Regions from separate parts of the Homo sapiens genome. Here all the other regions are linked to region 1. The links are contacts of gene promoters, found by promoter capture Hi-C in blood cells and fetal thymus (Javierre and others, 2016). All regions are on one chromosome and are shown on one strand. The core of a region is centred on a gene start or on the middle of the fragment in contact, and the rest is flanking DNA. Distances in the headings are between cores, read along the strand shown.

Region 1 (4,821 bases), core at 2,029-4,528:
CACTGAAGCACAGCATCACAGGGAGACAGGCCTCTGGATAACTGCAGGTGGTACTGAGTCAGGCCCTCCACAAGAGGTGGAGGAGTAGAGTCTTCTCTAAACTCCCCCAGGGAAAGGGAGACTCCCTTTCCCGGTCTGCTAAATAGCGGGTGTTTTTCCCTGACACTAACGCTACCGCTAGACCACGGTCCACTTGGCAACGGGCGTCTTCCCACACGCTGGCGTTACCCCTAGACCAAGGAGCCCTCTGGTGGCCCTGTCTGGGCGTAACAGAAGGCTCGCGCTCTTGTCTTCTGGTCACTTTTCACTATGTCTCCTCAGCTCCTATCTCTGTATGGCCTGGCTTTTCCTAGGTTATGATTATAGAGCGAGGATTATTATAATATTGGAATAAGAGTAATTGCTACCAACTAATGATTAATGATATTCATATATAATCATGTCTATGATCTAGATCTAATATAACTCTTGTTGTTTTATATATTTTATTATGCTGGAACAGCTCGTGCCCTCGGTCTCTTGCCTCGGCAGCTGGGTGGCTTGCTGCCCACAAATAGGAAGATCATTCCAATTTTCAGGTCCACAGAGGCCATTCTGTCATTTTCCAGCACTCAATATTGAGTAAGCAGAAGGTTCTGCATGGCAACACGAGTTGTGGGCCACATTTTCATGGAAAATAACCTTTCACTTATGACGATTTCTTCCCCCTGAATATTAAAAGTGAAATATATAGAGAGATATATTGTTAACAAATTTCCCATTTCGTGTATTTCTTTTTACAGCACCTACAATGTATGAGTGACTTTTATAAATGCTGTACCTATTCTGACATTTAATATTCACAACTCCATGAGGTAGGAATTCATATTATTCTCCTTTCACCAACTCTAAAAGAGTTTAAGCACAAGGAGATTAGGTGACTCATTTAAATACCAGAAGAGTGAAGATTTGAACGTGAGTAGCCTGGTTGCAGTAACATTGGTGTTCACTACTACGCTATAATAGTTGCCTAGTTGTGTCCTTTATATATCTATACACACATATATATACATATACACACACACATACATACACGCACACCTACATATGTATAAATATTTGTCATGTTCACTTTATAAATTTGGTTTGATAATTTCCTATTTTTGTCAAAGTATTTATTCTACATATCAATATAACTTATGAGTGAATATTCATAGGTCTTGATAAGTTATAATAGGCACTAAATAATTTCATATGACCCAATGTATTTAATGTGAGTAGATGTTAAGATACCAGCAGAAACACTCATTTCACTGTCTGCAAAGACTAAAAATACTACGGCACCCATCACGGAAATTAATGTACAACATTAGGTAGAGTGTGCACTAAAATATGAGACATGAAACATAAAAGGTGATAAAGCATTTTAGGCTAGAAAACGAATCATTTTAAAGATTATGTAACTATATATTTATTATTTTAAAACAACTAACTGAAACTTGAATTAATATTTGATTTGGGAAACCTATGAAAATATAATAATTCTGCAAAATGGAATTTGAAAGTATGGAATCTTGTGCATTTAATACATTGAAAAGAGAAAGAGGCTGGGCGCTGTGGCTCACACCTGTAATCCCAGCACTTTGGGAGGCCAAGATGGGTGGGTCACAAGGTCAAAAGATCGAGACATCGTAGCTAATACGGTGAAACCCCGTCTGTACGGGTGAGACTCCGTCTCAAAAAAAAAAAATTTAAATACATATATGTATTTTTATATGTAAAATAAATAGAATTTTTATATGTGTATGTTTATATGTAAATAACATATATGTATTTTTATGCTAAAATGCACTCTCATTTTTTTTTCACCCTTCACCTGTTATCAGATGTAATTCCCAGTTACGAAAACAGAGACCCAAAGAGACAGTGGATAGACCTTGGTTTACTCAGATACCCCCATATGGGCTCATCTTCTCTTGGGGAGCCTCCAGTCAATAAGTTTCCTCTCTGGGCCCAAGAGAAATCAATTCAGTTGGCCAGGAGAATTGCCAAGCACATATTATGTTAAAAATACTCTTCCAAATAACTGAGAATAAAGACTTTACAGACTAAAGGCCAGGAGCGGTGGCTCACGCCTATAACCCCAGCACTTCATGAGGCCCAGGTGGGCGGATCACATGAGCTCAGGGGTCCCAGACCAACCTGGCTAACGTGGTGAAACCCCGTCTCTACTAAAAATGCAAAAATTAGCCAGGCATGGTGGCACACGCCTGTAGTCCCAGGTACTCGGGAGGCTGAGGCAGGAAAATCGCTTGACCCAGGAGGCGTAGGTTGCCGTGAGCCGAGATCGCGCCATTACAATCCAGCCTGGGAAACAGAGACTCCATCTCAAAATAATAATAAAAATAATAATAACGATAGTATATTAGTAATTAATAACTTAGACAAAACACAACATACCAACTCCAATAAATCCAGCACTTGGATTTGTAATTTATCTCAAGAAATGTGCATTAGGATAATAAAGGAAAATAAATTTAGATCGATACAAGCAGAACTTTGCGTTCTTTTAAAGCCAAGCCTCAGCCTTCCACCCCCCACCGCCCAGGGTCTGACCCCATAAATTCTCTGGAACTCAGCCCATGGTGCATCTCTGCCTCCTGGGTGACTGGGGAGCGGAAATAAAAATTACGTTCCAGTGAAAGTCAATATAAAATTGTACACTCCGCACAGGCACAAAAATGCATCTCATTCCAGTTTCCATCACCTACGCAGACAACTCCAGCTTTCGCTTAATTAAATACAAATTTTAATCGTCCGGATTTCAGAAGTTCCTGGATCCAAGAGCTTCCTTATACCGTCGCCCTCTCCCATCCACCAGGTCCCAGCGCTCCTCCCGCCTCGTCGCAGGACGCGCCTCCATCGCTCGCAGAAACGTTTTCAAGCAAACCTTTCCCATCTTAAGCTCCGATTCCAATATAAGGGGCCCACAGGTCTCTAATTTTTTACTTAGCTAGGCTCCAAAGGACACCATAGAGATTCAAGGGAATCCAAAAGTGAAGAATCGAGTACTGCTGGGCGACAAACAGGCCTAAAAAAGTCGCTGGGACGCGCCGAGGAGAGGTCCGGCAGTCCGACCCCTAGGCCCCGCCCATCCCGCCATTGTCCCCGCCCATCCCGCCATTGTCCCCGCCCATCCCCGCCATTTGCCCGCCCATCCCCACAGTTGTCCGCGCCCTGCCCCTGCCCTTGCCCCTTGCGCCGCCCCAGTGCACTCGCGTACGCGCAGGTTCCTGCCGACCCGGAAGCGGATCTCGCGGGGCTACTGGCGCTCTCGGGTGAGTCTCCGTCTTTCGGGTTCAAGCCTGCGCCTCGCGGGCCACAGGTTCCCACGCTCCGCTGTCGGGTTTTGGGGTCGCCCTGTAGGTTAAAACCCCGAACCTGCTCATTCCTCTCGCGGCGTGGCCCTAAGACGTTCCCAGTCCCGTCGCTCCGAGAGGGTCTAGAGATCTGCGTCCATTTCGGATTAAAATCGTTCTGAAGTGGGTACTGGCCCCGACCTTTTTGCTTTAGGTCAGTGTGGACACCGACCGCCCACCGCGTCGTTTCTCTGCTTAAAACTCTTCTCTGACTCCCTCTTCCCTCCCCCTGGTAAAGCCCTCACTCGGGGTGGATACACACCCTTCGCCCTTCTCCAGGGAGAACAGAGGGGAAGCAGAAATGGAGGATAAAGAGGGAGAAATGCGCGAAATTAGAGAGCCATCAGAAACAATAGCAGGGACTGAAAAAAAGGATGCTACCAGGATGGGGCCAAACACTCTGTCAGAGAAGGAGAGGAAGGGAAGCCAAATGAGCAGAAAGGGACAGGAAAACGCCGAAATGGGAAAAAGAAAAGGAAAGAAACAGAAGGTGGAAGAGAAACATTTATAGAGAGGGGGAAAAAAATCACATAATGGTGGAGAAAGGGGGGGGCACCCAAATCCATGTGAGTGTGGATTGATTTAATATGGAACATTAAGTTGTGAAGTACTGATGTATGGCTCTATAATTAATTTAAAATTTGCTTCATTGTTTGTGCAGAAGAGCATGAAAATTGCAAAACTACGGTGTGAGGCTTCTGCGTTTTCTAATTATTACATCAGAAGCAACCCTTATTCAGCCAGAGGGTTAACTGACTTAGCTCAGTTAATTCCAGCTCACCCTCTTCCCTTTCTCTGATCTTGAGGAGAGTCAAGAAATGGGAAGAAACTGTGACACCGTATGCTGCTTTTGCAAACAGACATTAACAATATTATTCCCTCCTTTTTTGTGTGTGGCTTGTGTCATTTTCTAAATTTGACGTGTATTCAACTTGTCTTAAATGTAATTCCATAATTTATTGGATTTAAAAAAAATTTTCAAAGTATTTTCTCTTAAATGTATTGTTCAGCTTATGAGGTTTAAATGCTTTCTTTTGCTTTCTTTTATTTATTTATTTATTTTTTTGAGACGGAGTCTCACTCTGTCACCCAGGCTGGAGTGCAGTGGCTTGATCTCGGCTCACTGCAACCTCCGCCTCCAGGGTTCAAGCGATTCTCCTGCCTTAGCCTCCCGAGTGGCTGGGATTAAAGGCATGCGCCACCATGCCCGGTGAATTTGTATTTTTAGCAGAGACGGGATTTTCACCTTGTTAGCCAGGCTGGTCTCGAACTCCTGACCTCAGGTGATCTGTCTCCGCCTCTCAAAGCACTGGGATTACAGGCGTGAGCCACCGCGCCTGGCCTAAATGCTTTCTACTTTTTATCATATATTGGAACTATTCTTTTATGTCTGGTACTTGATTTCACAGTGTTTCACTCTAAG
Region 2 (5,153 bases), core at 805-3,304, 1.4 Mb after region 1:
TCATTTGCAAAGTATGTGATAAAGGCTTTGTGGTTAGGACACATCTCACTGTACATCAGAGAGCTCACACAGGAGAGAAACCATATGCTTGCTCAGATTGTGAAAAAGCCTTCTCAAAAAAGGCTTTATTCATGATTCATCAGTGAATTCACACAGGAGAGATACCCTATTAATGCATTCAATGTCAAACAGCTTTGAAGACCAGATCTGAGCTCAGTTATCCTCAGAAAGTTCTTCATAGAAAAGGAAAATTCTATGGATGCAGTAAATGTGGGAAAGCTTTTCCTTGGAAGTCGAACCTCATTTTGCATCTCAGAACTCATTCAGGAGAGAGACCTTTCAGGTGCAAAGTCTATCATAAAGCCTTCATGGTTAGAACACAGCTAACTATACATCAGAGAACTCACACAGGAGAGAAACCATATGCTTGCTTGGATTATGAGAAAGCCTTCTTGAAAAAGGCTCAGCTTATGAAGCATCAGTGAATTCATACAGAAGAAAGACCCTATGGATGCAGTGAATGTCAAGAAGCTTTCATCTGGAAGTTGGATCTCAACAATCATAAGAAAACTCATCATGCAGTAAGGAAATCCCATGAATGCAGTGAATGTGGGAAGGTTTTATCCTCCAAAAAAAACTTTGTTATACATCAGAGAACCCATACAGGTGAGAAACCCTTCAAATGCAATGTATGTGATAAAGCCTTCACATCAAAGGGAAATCTCATTGTATATCAGAGAACTCATATAGGAAATAAATCATATGAATGCTCAGACTGTGATAGGGCCTTCTCCAGTAAGGTATATCTCATGACTCATCAGCCAATTCACACAGGAGAGAGACCCTATGATGCAATGAAGGTCAACAAGCTTTCACCCAAAAGACAGGTCTCAGTAAGCATCGAAAAACTTGCCATGCAAGAATGAAATCTTATGGATACAGTGGATGTGGGAAGGTTTTGTCCTGTAAGTCAACTCTCATTATATAACAGAGAACCTATACAGGTGAGAAACTCCTCAAATGTAGCATGTGTAATAAAGCCATCATAGTTAAATCCTGTCTCACTGTACATTAGAGAATTCATACAGGAGAGAAACCATATAAATGCAGTGATTGTAAGAAAGCATTCGCTACTTTGTAAACTCTCATTGGTCACCAGAGAACTCACACAGGAAAGAGGCCCTATAGATGCAGTGAATGTCAAAAAGCTTTACTCAGAAATCAGCTATTACTAATCATCAGAAACCCCAGCAGGAAGGAAGAAAGTCCATGCAGTGACTTGGAATATGAGAGAGCTTTTTTGATTAGTCACATCAGCTCAGACACAATAGAAGTTCCATGAATACTATGATTGTAATGGGCCCTTTTGGAACTCTTGTGGGAGAGAAACCTTATAGATGCAATGAATATTTTAAGCCTTCTTTTTTGAAGATATCCCTCGTTTACCGTAGAGATCTCACAAGAAGAATCATTGGCCAGGCGCATTGGCCCATGCCTGTTATCTCAGCACTTTGGGAGGCTGAAGCAGGCAGATCACTTGAGGTTGGGAGTTCGAGACCAGCCTGGCCAACATGATGAAACCCTGTCTCTACTAAAAATACAAAAAAAAAAAAAAACAAATAGCCAGGTGTGGTGTGCACACCTGTAATCCTAACTACTCAGGAGGCTGAGGCAGGAGAATCTCTTGAACCTAGGAGGTGGAGGTTGCAGTAAGCCGAGATTGCACCAGTGTACTCCAGCCTGGGTGACAGAGTGAGACTCTGTCTCAAAAAAAAAAAAAAAAAAAAAAAGAGAGAGTCAATTATGAGTGCAGTGATTGTCAAAAAAGTTTATTAGAAAACTAGAAGCTTTCCATTTAGTAGGCAGCACCAGTGGATGTAATGAAAATGATAAATCATTCTCAAATTATATTTGTTACACATTAGGGTATTCATTCAGGAGAAGGACCCTACAGATGGAGGGAATGCAGGAAAGCTAAGAAGAATCACACCTCATTGCAGGTAAAAATTAAAATCTGAAAGTCAAAACTCTTTGAATATCTTGTTTACGAGAGAAATCTCATAGATACAGTGAATGTGATTGTGATAAAGTCTTCCCAGTTAATGTTTATCTTTCTTGTTATAGCAAACTCATACAAGAGGAAACCCCTATTAATATAGTAAATGTGGTAAAGCCTTCATGTAGATACCAAAGGTCACTAATTATATCAGCAAACTCATGTGGTAGATAGGTCCTTCTGAAACGGAATGTGGAAAGCTTTTGAAAGTGACATATACATCAGATACTTAAATCAGAAGGGAAAACGATAGAGTTAAACTTGGCCATTGGCCACAAAACCCATTGCATAGCAGGAAAGAATTGCAGTGATTGTCTAAAATTCTTTATTTAAAATTCAGAGCTGAATTGCCCCCTAACTCAGTTATCAGAAAGATCCTATTCTCGAAGGCAATAATATTTAGGTTCAATGCAGGTATAAAATCCTAATGGAGCCATATCTATTCTGCTTCAGCAGAGTCATACATTTACCTAAAAGCAATGGTTCTGGTCACAGGAAATAATTTCTGTGGAGGATTAGATAGCATTAAACATCACAAGCTTTTAAATATAGGAGCAGAATTTGCTCCATACAGAGATTTTATGAATGCAGTGAAAGTGGTAAAAGCATCAGTGATAAGTTATTTTTTATTTCATGGATTCACTTCTTCACATCCTACCATGTCTTAAATTGTGAAGCATCTTATGATCTGGAATGTCATAGTAATTGTCAGGGCTTTTTAAATGTGTGATGGCACTTTAGATTTGAGTAATTACCCTTGCCTGTATATATAATTTTATAATGGTTTTGCATAATTATTATAGAAAGGATTCCAGAGAATATTCTATAAATATTAGACATTTCATTGTCAAATATTCCTTTTGAATATATGAAAAATAAGAATATAATAAGGATTAGTCGAATAGTGACAAAGGATCTTAGGGGTTGTGTTGTGGACTGTACTATGTGACATGTACTTTATATATTTATAAACTTCATTGTTTACTTGGAATTACACGAAGAAACAATTTTCAGGGTTAAAGAAATTCTCAACATAAGACAAAATGTTGAATAATTCAATGTAGTGCAAATAAAATGTTTTTTTCTTATGAATCAAAATGTCTTGTAATACATATTTGACTCATTATTAAGGAGTCTAAAGGATTATACCACGTAAGTGTGAATTCCTTATTTTTGCTGTCATTTGTAGTATTTTTGCCCACTGTGATGATCCATCACAAGTAGAAGTTTACATTTTTCTAGAGCCTTATAACTCTGAAACATCCAAAGATTATAAAAGATTTACCTAAAATATTTAAAAACCAGCAACACATTAGAGTAATGGAAGAAAAAAGTGTGAGGTTATATGAGGTGAGTTTATGGCTATATATTTCAAGTTTGTGTCACACCGAAACTTTTGATTTGTTATGATAATATGCCATTCCTTTGGTGGTTCCTCAAAAAGTTAAATCCAGACTTACCATATGACCCAGGAATTCCATTCCTAAGTAAAATACCCATGAGAATTGAAAACAGGTACTCAACCAAATATTTGTCCATGAATGTTTATAGCACTGTTCACAATAGCCAAAATAGCATTTGGTTGAAAAAACTCAAATGCCTATCAAAGGATGAATAAATAAAATGTGCTACATGCATGTACACATGAATACATAAATGGTCAGTTATACAAATGAATGAAGTACTGATGACATGTTGCATGAATGAGCCCCAAAAAACATACTGAGTGAAAGAAGCCAAATGCAAATTCCACATTTTATACTTTCATTTATATCAAATACTCTGAATAGGTAAATCTATAGAGAAATAAAGCAAATTAGTGGTTATTGGGCACTAGAGGGGAAGGGAGAATGCAATCTATCTGCGTAGTATGTATGGGGTTTTCTTTTAGAATGATGAAAATGTTTTTGAACTAGATAGAGATGGTGGTTGCATAATATTGTGAATGTGCTAAACTTCACTGAATTGTACACTCTAAAATTGTTAATATTTGAATTTTTACATGAAGAAAAATATATTTAAAAAGAAAAATATTGCATGAACTCTGGCACTTCAAATATGGACTTTTTTTTAACAAAATGAGACTTACTTGACTGAATCTTCTATAAAACTTCTAGTGGGTATTCTAGTTATTAAAAAGCAAGGTTTTTTTTTACCTCCATGTGAAATAACTGACTTATTTTGGTTATCAGTGAAACCTATTGTTTTGCAAGGAATTCTGTAAAAATGTACCAGCAAAATCTTGCTTATTTTTTTCTCTAGATTTTTGCCCCTTCCCCATTTTGTTTGACAGTTGTCAAGAAATCTTTTCTTCACCATTTTATTATGAAAATCTTCAGACATAAAGATGTTTAAGGAGTACTAAACACTAATCTGGATTTGACCATTGCAACATTTTTCTGTGTGTGTTTGTGTGTGTCATATGTTCTGACAACCTCCTATTCACCCTGGTGCATGAGGGAGGGACTCCCTACCCTAAGTAGTATGGAATGGCTGAACACAACACCTGACACTGGCTAGATGAAATTGACAGCAGTTTATTAGTCACAGATACAGCCTGAGAGAAATGGTCATTGCATATAGGTATTGCACTCAGGAATAGAGTGAACAAGCACGGAGATTGTGGGAAGTAGGCTTTATATAATGAGAGGGTAACGTGCCCATGGTTTCTGTGGAAGAATGCAATTGCTTTGTATAATTCCATGGGCTGAATATAGATTGAGGACCATGTTGGGTGCAGCTAGTTCAGCTGATTGGGGAGTTAGCTGGGTGGGAGCCTTTCCTGTGCAGTGGGAGCATATCTGGTGAGAGTAAGGGAATTCAAAGATAGGCCTTCAGGGCCCTGTAAAGCTCAAAGACTAAAAGCAGGCCAGACACAATGGCCCGCACCTGTAATCCCAGCACTTTGGGATTACAGGTGGATCCTTTGGAGGATCCCTTGAGCCCAGGAGTTTGAGACCAGCCTGGGCAACGTAACGAGACTCCATCTCTACAAAAAATTTTAAAATAATAATCTTAGATTTGAAAGCAGCACATGAGATAATAGGTTCTTAGAGTTTTGTGTGTGTGCGTGTGTGTGTGTGTATGTGTACAGATA
Region 3 (5,153 bases), core at 1,624-4,123, 1.1 Mb after region 1:
CCCTTGGCTAATTTTTGTATTTTTTGTAGAGATAGAGTTTTGTAATGTTGCCCAGGTTGCTCTTGAACTCCTGGGTTCAAGCAATCTGCCCACCTCAGCCTCTCTCAATGTGCTGGGATTACAGGCGTGAGCCACTGCACCCTGCCTTGTTCCTTTACTTGCTTAGTAAACTTGCTTTCACTTTACAGTGTGAACTCACCCCTAATTCTTTCTTGCATGAGATCCAAGAACCCTCCCTTTTGGTTGTAACTGCCCAACAGGTTCTCCTTCCCTGCTGCCTAGACAGAGCTGATTCATCAAGACAGGGGAATTGCAAGAGAGAGTTTAATTCATGTGGAGCTGGCTGTACAGGAACCTGAAATTTTTTTATTACTCACATGAGTCTCCCTGAAAACTCGGGGATCAGGGTTTTTAAGGATAATTTGATAGGTAGGTGTCAGTGAGTCGGGAGTGCTGATTGGTTGGGTAGGAGACGAAATCATAGAGATCTGAAGCTGTCATTTTGCACTGAGTCAGTTCCTGGGTGGGGTCACAAGACCAGATGAGCCAGTTTATGGATCTGGGTTGGTGTCAGGTGATCCATCAAGTGCAGGGAATGCAAAATATCTCAAGCACTGATCTTAGGTTTTATAATAGTAATGTTATCCCCAGGAACAATCTGGGAAGGGTGAGAATCTTGTAGCCTCCAGCTACATGACTCCTAAACCATCATCTCTCACCTTGTGCCTAATTTGTTAGTCTTACAAAGGCAGTCTAGTCCCCAAGCAGGAAGGGGGTTTGTTTTGGGAAAGGGCTGTTAATGTCTTTGTTTCAAACTATAAACTAAGTTCCTTCCAAAGTTAGTTCAGCCTATGCCCAGGAATGAACAAGAGCAGCTTGGAGGTTAAAAGCAAGATGGAGTTGATTAGGTCAGATCTCTTTCACTGTAATAATTTTCTCAGTTATAATTGTGCAATGGAAGTTTCAGGTTCTGGATCAGGACCCCTTTCTGGTAACACAAGGATGGTTATGAATGCATCCAGATATCCAAAAAGTTATCTCTGAAAGCCAGAGATTTCCTTTCCCTATGGGTTCTTCCCTTGCATGTCAACCCAAGGATTCACTGGGGACCTAGAATTGTGCAGGGCAGTTAGGAAGAGAGAGACAAAAGAGAGAAGAGGTGAAGTAGTTTTGAAGAAGAGAAAGAAGGTCCCATGCAGCCTCAGTTTTTTTTCCAACAAACTTTTCATGCTGGGAAATAGGATCCTGGTTTATTTGTGGGAGGGATTTTATAGGAGGGTGAGAAAAAAATGCCCTTTGAGGGTAGAGTCTGTGGAGCCCTAATTGGGGAAAAGGAGTCAGCCTGAAAGGACCAGGAGAAAGCAAAGAGATAAAGCAAATAAGCTATAAATCTTTCTTCATGGTCCAGAACATATAAAAAAAAATAGAGGAAGCAGATAAGCTGTAGGTCTCTTTTTCTTTATGGCCAAGGACATATGGCCTTTCTGTGGAAAGAACGTAAATAAGTCACAAACTTTCTGCTTTCATTTATCATCAAACGCCTCAGCTAACAGAAGAATGCAAGTTAGCTCCCTGCTACCTTGGCCTCCCAAAGTGTGGGGATTATAGGCGTTAGCCACTGCACCCAACCAAATCTCCTCTTCTCATGGCTCACTGCAGCCTTCACCTCCTGGGCTCAAATGATCCTCCTTCCTTACCCTTCCGAGTTGCTGGGCCCACACGTGCAGGCCACCATGTCCAGATAATTTAATTTTTTGTAGAGAGGTCTGGCTATGTTGCCCAGGATGATCTCAAATCCCTGGCCTCAAGCAATTCTGACACCTCAGCTTCCCAAGTAGCTGGGACTACAAGAGTGCATTACCAAGCCTGGCTACTTTTTGTATTTCTTGTAGAGATGGGGGTCTCACGATGCTGTCCAGGCTGGTTTTGAACTCTTGAGCTCAAGTGACCTGCCCACCTGGGCCTCCAAAACTGCTGGCCCATCTCAAAAGACTTAATCCATTTCAGTATCAACTCTCAAAAGTCTTAATCCATTCCTGTATCAGCTCTTAGGGCAGAATACCCCCTAAATATTATCTGAACCACACATGGGTGAGAATCAAGGTGTGATTCATCCTGAGGCAAAATTTCTGCCCAGCTGTGAATCTGTGAGGCCAGAGAAGTTATCTGCTTCCAAAATATAATGGTGATAAAGGCATAGGATACATCCCCCAGCCCTGGTAACCACCCTTCTAATCTGTTACTGTAAATTTGACGTTTGTACTTTGCACGTGTAAAAGCACAGGCAGTATTTGTCTTTCTGTGTCTAGCATATTTCGCTTGGCATAATGTCTTCCGGGTTCCTGGATCCAGCCACGGCTCCACATCAAATCCCCAGCGAGATCCTAGTTCCCTGACTATTGAGTAGCTTCAGCATCATCGGCAAGAGTGGATGGAGTCCACCAAGCTTGTAAAAATCGGTTTTGACTTAGTTCAACTTGTTAAGAAATCATCTTAGTTTCTAATATAAGTGGACCACAACTTTAAGCTTTAACCTTAAATTTTGAAACATTAACTTAAAATAGGCAGGCAGCAACGCTGCTTCACAGGACAAGAAGTAGTCAGAAAACCAAAGACATGCTGCCTGTGAACCAGAGTAAATAACAGGCTCTATTTCGGCCCCGCTTACCCCATGAAACCCCGCCCCATCCTCCGCCGCGGCTCCGTCCCGCCCCACCTAGCCACGCCCACTGCCGCTCCGGCCCGGCTCCACCCTCTCAGGGTCCCTCCCCGAGTCAGGCCCCTCTTTCCGACCCGCCCCTTGCTGGTCGCGGCTCGCCCAGGCCCCGCCCCCTGGCCTCCCAGTTTTTTCTCTCCGCTAGCAGTTTCCGTCACTCCCGGAAGCAGATTGCGCCAGGGAAAGGCCTTATCGCTGTGTGTGTGTTTCAGTCTACGTGGATTAAACATTACTTCGCTCCGTCTGCCTGGATTAAACGTGCACTTTGCAGTCCTCACTTCTCCGTACCAGTGATCTGGGGATCGCTACGGACCTTAAAATACCCATAGCCCCTTCGCCCCTGCAACAGGCACTTCTCCCCACGTAAGTCCGAGAATTGCTTCCCTGTCGGTTTAAAATCTCTCTCAGGCTGTTCCTTGCCCCCTGCCTTTCTGCCATGTAGATAACCATGTCGATAACCCCATTCAGGTCGTGTTCCTGCTTAAAACTCTCATTGACCCCTGCTTCGGCCCCGGGCGAAGTCAAGTCCTCCCTCGCGAGGTGGATTCCCACCAGTCGAGACCCCCGAGCTTCGCCCTTGTCGACGCCTGGAGGGGAGCGCCCGCTGCCCAGCTCCTGAAGGAGCCGCTTCTTCTCCCAGGTCCTGGGATTCTGCAGACCCTCCCTGTCCTGAGACACCGTCCCCCGCGCCACCTAGTGTCCTCCGCGCGCCACCTAGTGTCCTCCTCACGCCGGGTCCTTCCCCTCCCCAGGCTGCCCCTTCACAGCCACTGCTTTTCCTGACTCCGCGTTGCAGGAGGTCACCCGAGTCTGTCTTGTGACACCCACTGTCGTTCCTTCCCAAATTTTTACTCCACTGGAAAATGTGCTCTTCCGGGAGGTGGGCATCGTATTCCTCCCCTTTCCTCCTGAATGTGTGGGTGAGAGGGATCAGGAGAGGAAAAGAGGGGGAGCGACGGGACAGAAAGAAAAACTGGGGAGAAAAGAATGAGTACACGGCAAAATGGATGATAATTTAGGTACTGGCAAAGAGAGCAAGAGTGCAAGAGGACGCATGGAGAAAGTAGCACGGGGAGAAAAGCACATAAAGAAATTAGGGAAAAGGGAGAGCTTCAGGGAGCTGAAGGGCAGCAAAATAGAGAGGGGCGGCAAAGGAGGAGGCACTGCAGTCAGACGCGGGGGGCGGAAAAGGTAAGAGTCGGAGCCGCGGCTGACAGAGCCACGTGGTGCTGGGACTGAAGGAGAGGGGAGTGGGTAACAAAGGAGAGTAGAGGGAGAACCACAGCAAGGAGGAAGCCTAGGAAGTTGGGGGTGCTAGAGAGTGGGAACAAAGGAGATGTAACAGGGAAAAGGGAATTTAACAGGGAAGAGGGATTTTAACAGGGAGAGCAGACAGGGAGCTCAGATGGGGGAAAAGAGGCAGGAATACGTGGCGGCTGGGGACAATGGGAAAGTTTGGGGAGAAAGAGCAACAAGAGGTGAAATAAATTTCGAAGCATTGGGCAGAATAGACATAAAAGAGGGAATAAAGAAAGGGGAGAAAAACAGCAAAGGGAAAAAAGACGTGCAGAATGAGAGCGGGAAACACATAGTAGTGAAGAGAGTGGGCGAGGACCCCACCCAGATGAGCTGTGAGTTGATTGGATATGGATGGTGGTTTTAATGTATTGATTTGTGACTTTATACTCTAATTTAAAATTTGTTTCTTTAAATTGTACTCATGAGGATGAAAATTACCACTCTTTTCTACAAGGCTTGTGCATTTTGTATTTGTTTATATCAAAAGATATTTGGAATCCCTATTTAGCCACAGGGCAGTGACTTGATTCAGTCATTTTGTAACTCTTCTTTCCAGGGAGGGAGTAGAGGATGGAGGAGGAGAGAAATAGGCAAGAAATGACTGACTGTCACTACAAGATGTATCTTTGGTTTTTTGTTTGTTTTTTCTCTTTTTGAGACAGGGTCTCTGTCGCCCAGGCTGGAGTGCGGTAAAATTATATCGGCTCACTGCAGCCTCTCAGCTGCACTCCATCCTCCTCAGCCCCTGAAGGTGCTGGGATTACATGTGTGAACCACCTCTACAGGCCTACAATGTATGTCTTTGAAGGAGAGTTGAGAGTGTTGGTTTTTTGTTTTGTTAATGGATTTACTTTTTTCCTTGTAGTTGCTTTACAGTTAATTCATTGTTATTTTGGAAGCTTGATTTAAATTTTAGTTTATTCAGTTTCTTCTATAATTACTAACTTCTGAAATAAGATTTGATGTCATCCTGTAATCAGCTGATGTCATTAATTTCTCAATATTGCCTTTTTTTAACTTTTACCCCATAATTTATTAGATTTTTCAAAAACTTTCCAAACTGTTAAAGCGTCCAGTGCGGTAAACTCACCACGAAGTACATTAGATTCCTCAGAACTTCTTCATTTTATAACTGAGA

Evidence for each region. The method cuts DNA at HindIII sites, captures the fragments that hold promoters and counts their contacts. A CHiCAGO score of 5 or more calls a contact.
Region 2: a contact is called between a fragment that was not itself captured here and the fragment with the promoter of ZNF677 in region 1, in 1 of 17 cell types (total CD4 T cells). The highest score is 5.1, in total CD4 T cells.
Region 3: a contact is called between the fragment with the promoter of ZNF616 here and the fragment with the promoter of ZNF677 in region 1, in 1 of 17 cell types (M2 macrophages). The highest score is 5.9, in M2 macrophages.

The regions. Positions count from the first base shown.
Region 1 is chr19:53,253,330-53,258,150 of GRCh38, reverse strand. It overlaps ZNF677 (zinc finger protein 677), which reads left to right and starts at 3,278. Exons shown (of 5, transcript NM_182609.4): 1 at 3,278-3,317. The HindIII fragment of the contact is 13,972 bases long and covers 1-4,821 here.
Region 2 is chr19:51,857,751-51,862,903 of GRCh38, reverse strand. It overlaps a transcript of ZNF577 not described here and the pseudogene LOC100419706. Among named protein-coding and RNA genes, the nearest start is that of ZNF577, 28 kb to the left of the region's middle. The HindIII fragment of the contact is 409 bases long and covers 1,850-2,258 here.
Region 3 is chr19:52,137,658-52,142,810 of GRCh38, reverse strand. ZNF616 (zinc finger protein 616) reads left to right here and starts at 2,873. Exons shown (of 4, transcript NM_178523.5): 1 at 2,873-3,079. RefSeq lists silencers at 2,578-2,627, 2,638-2,917 and an enhancer at 3,038-3,277. The HindIII fragment of the contact is 2,387 bases long and covers 2,530-4,916 here.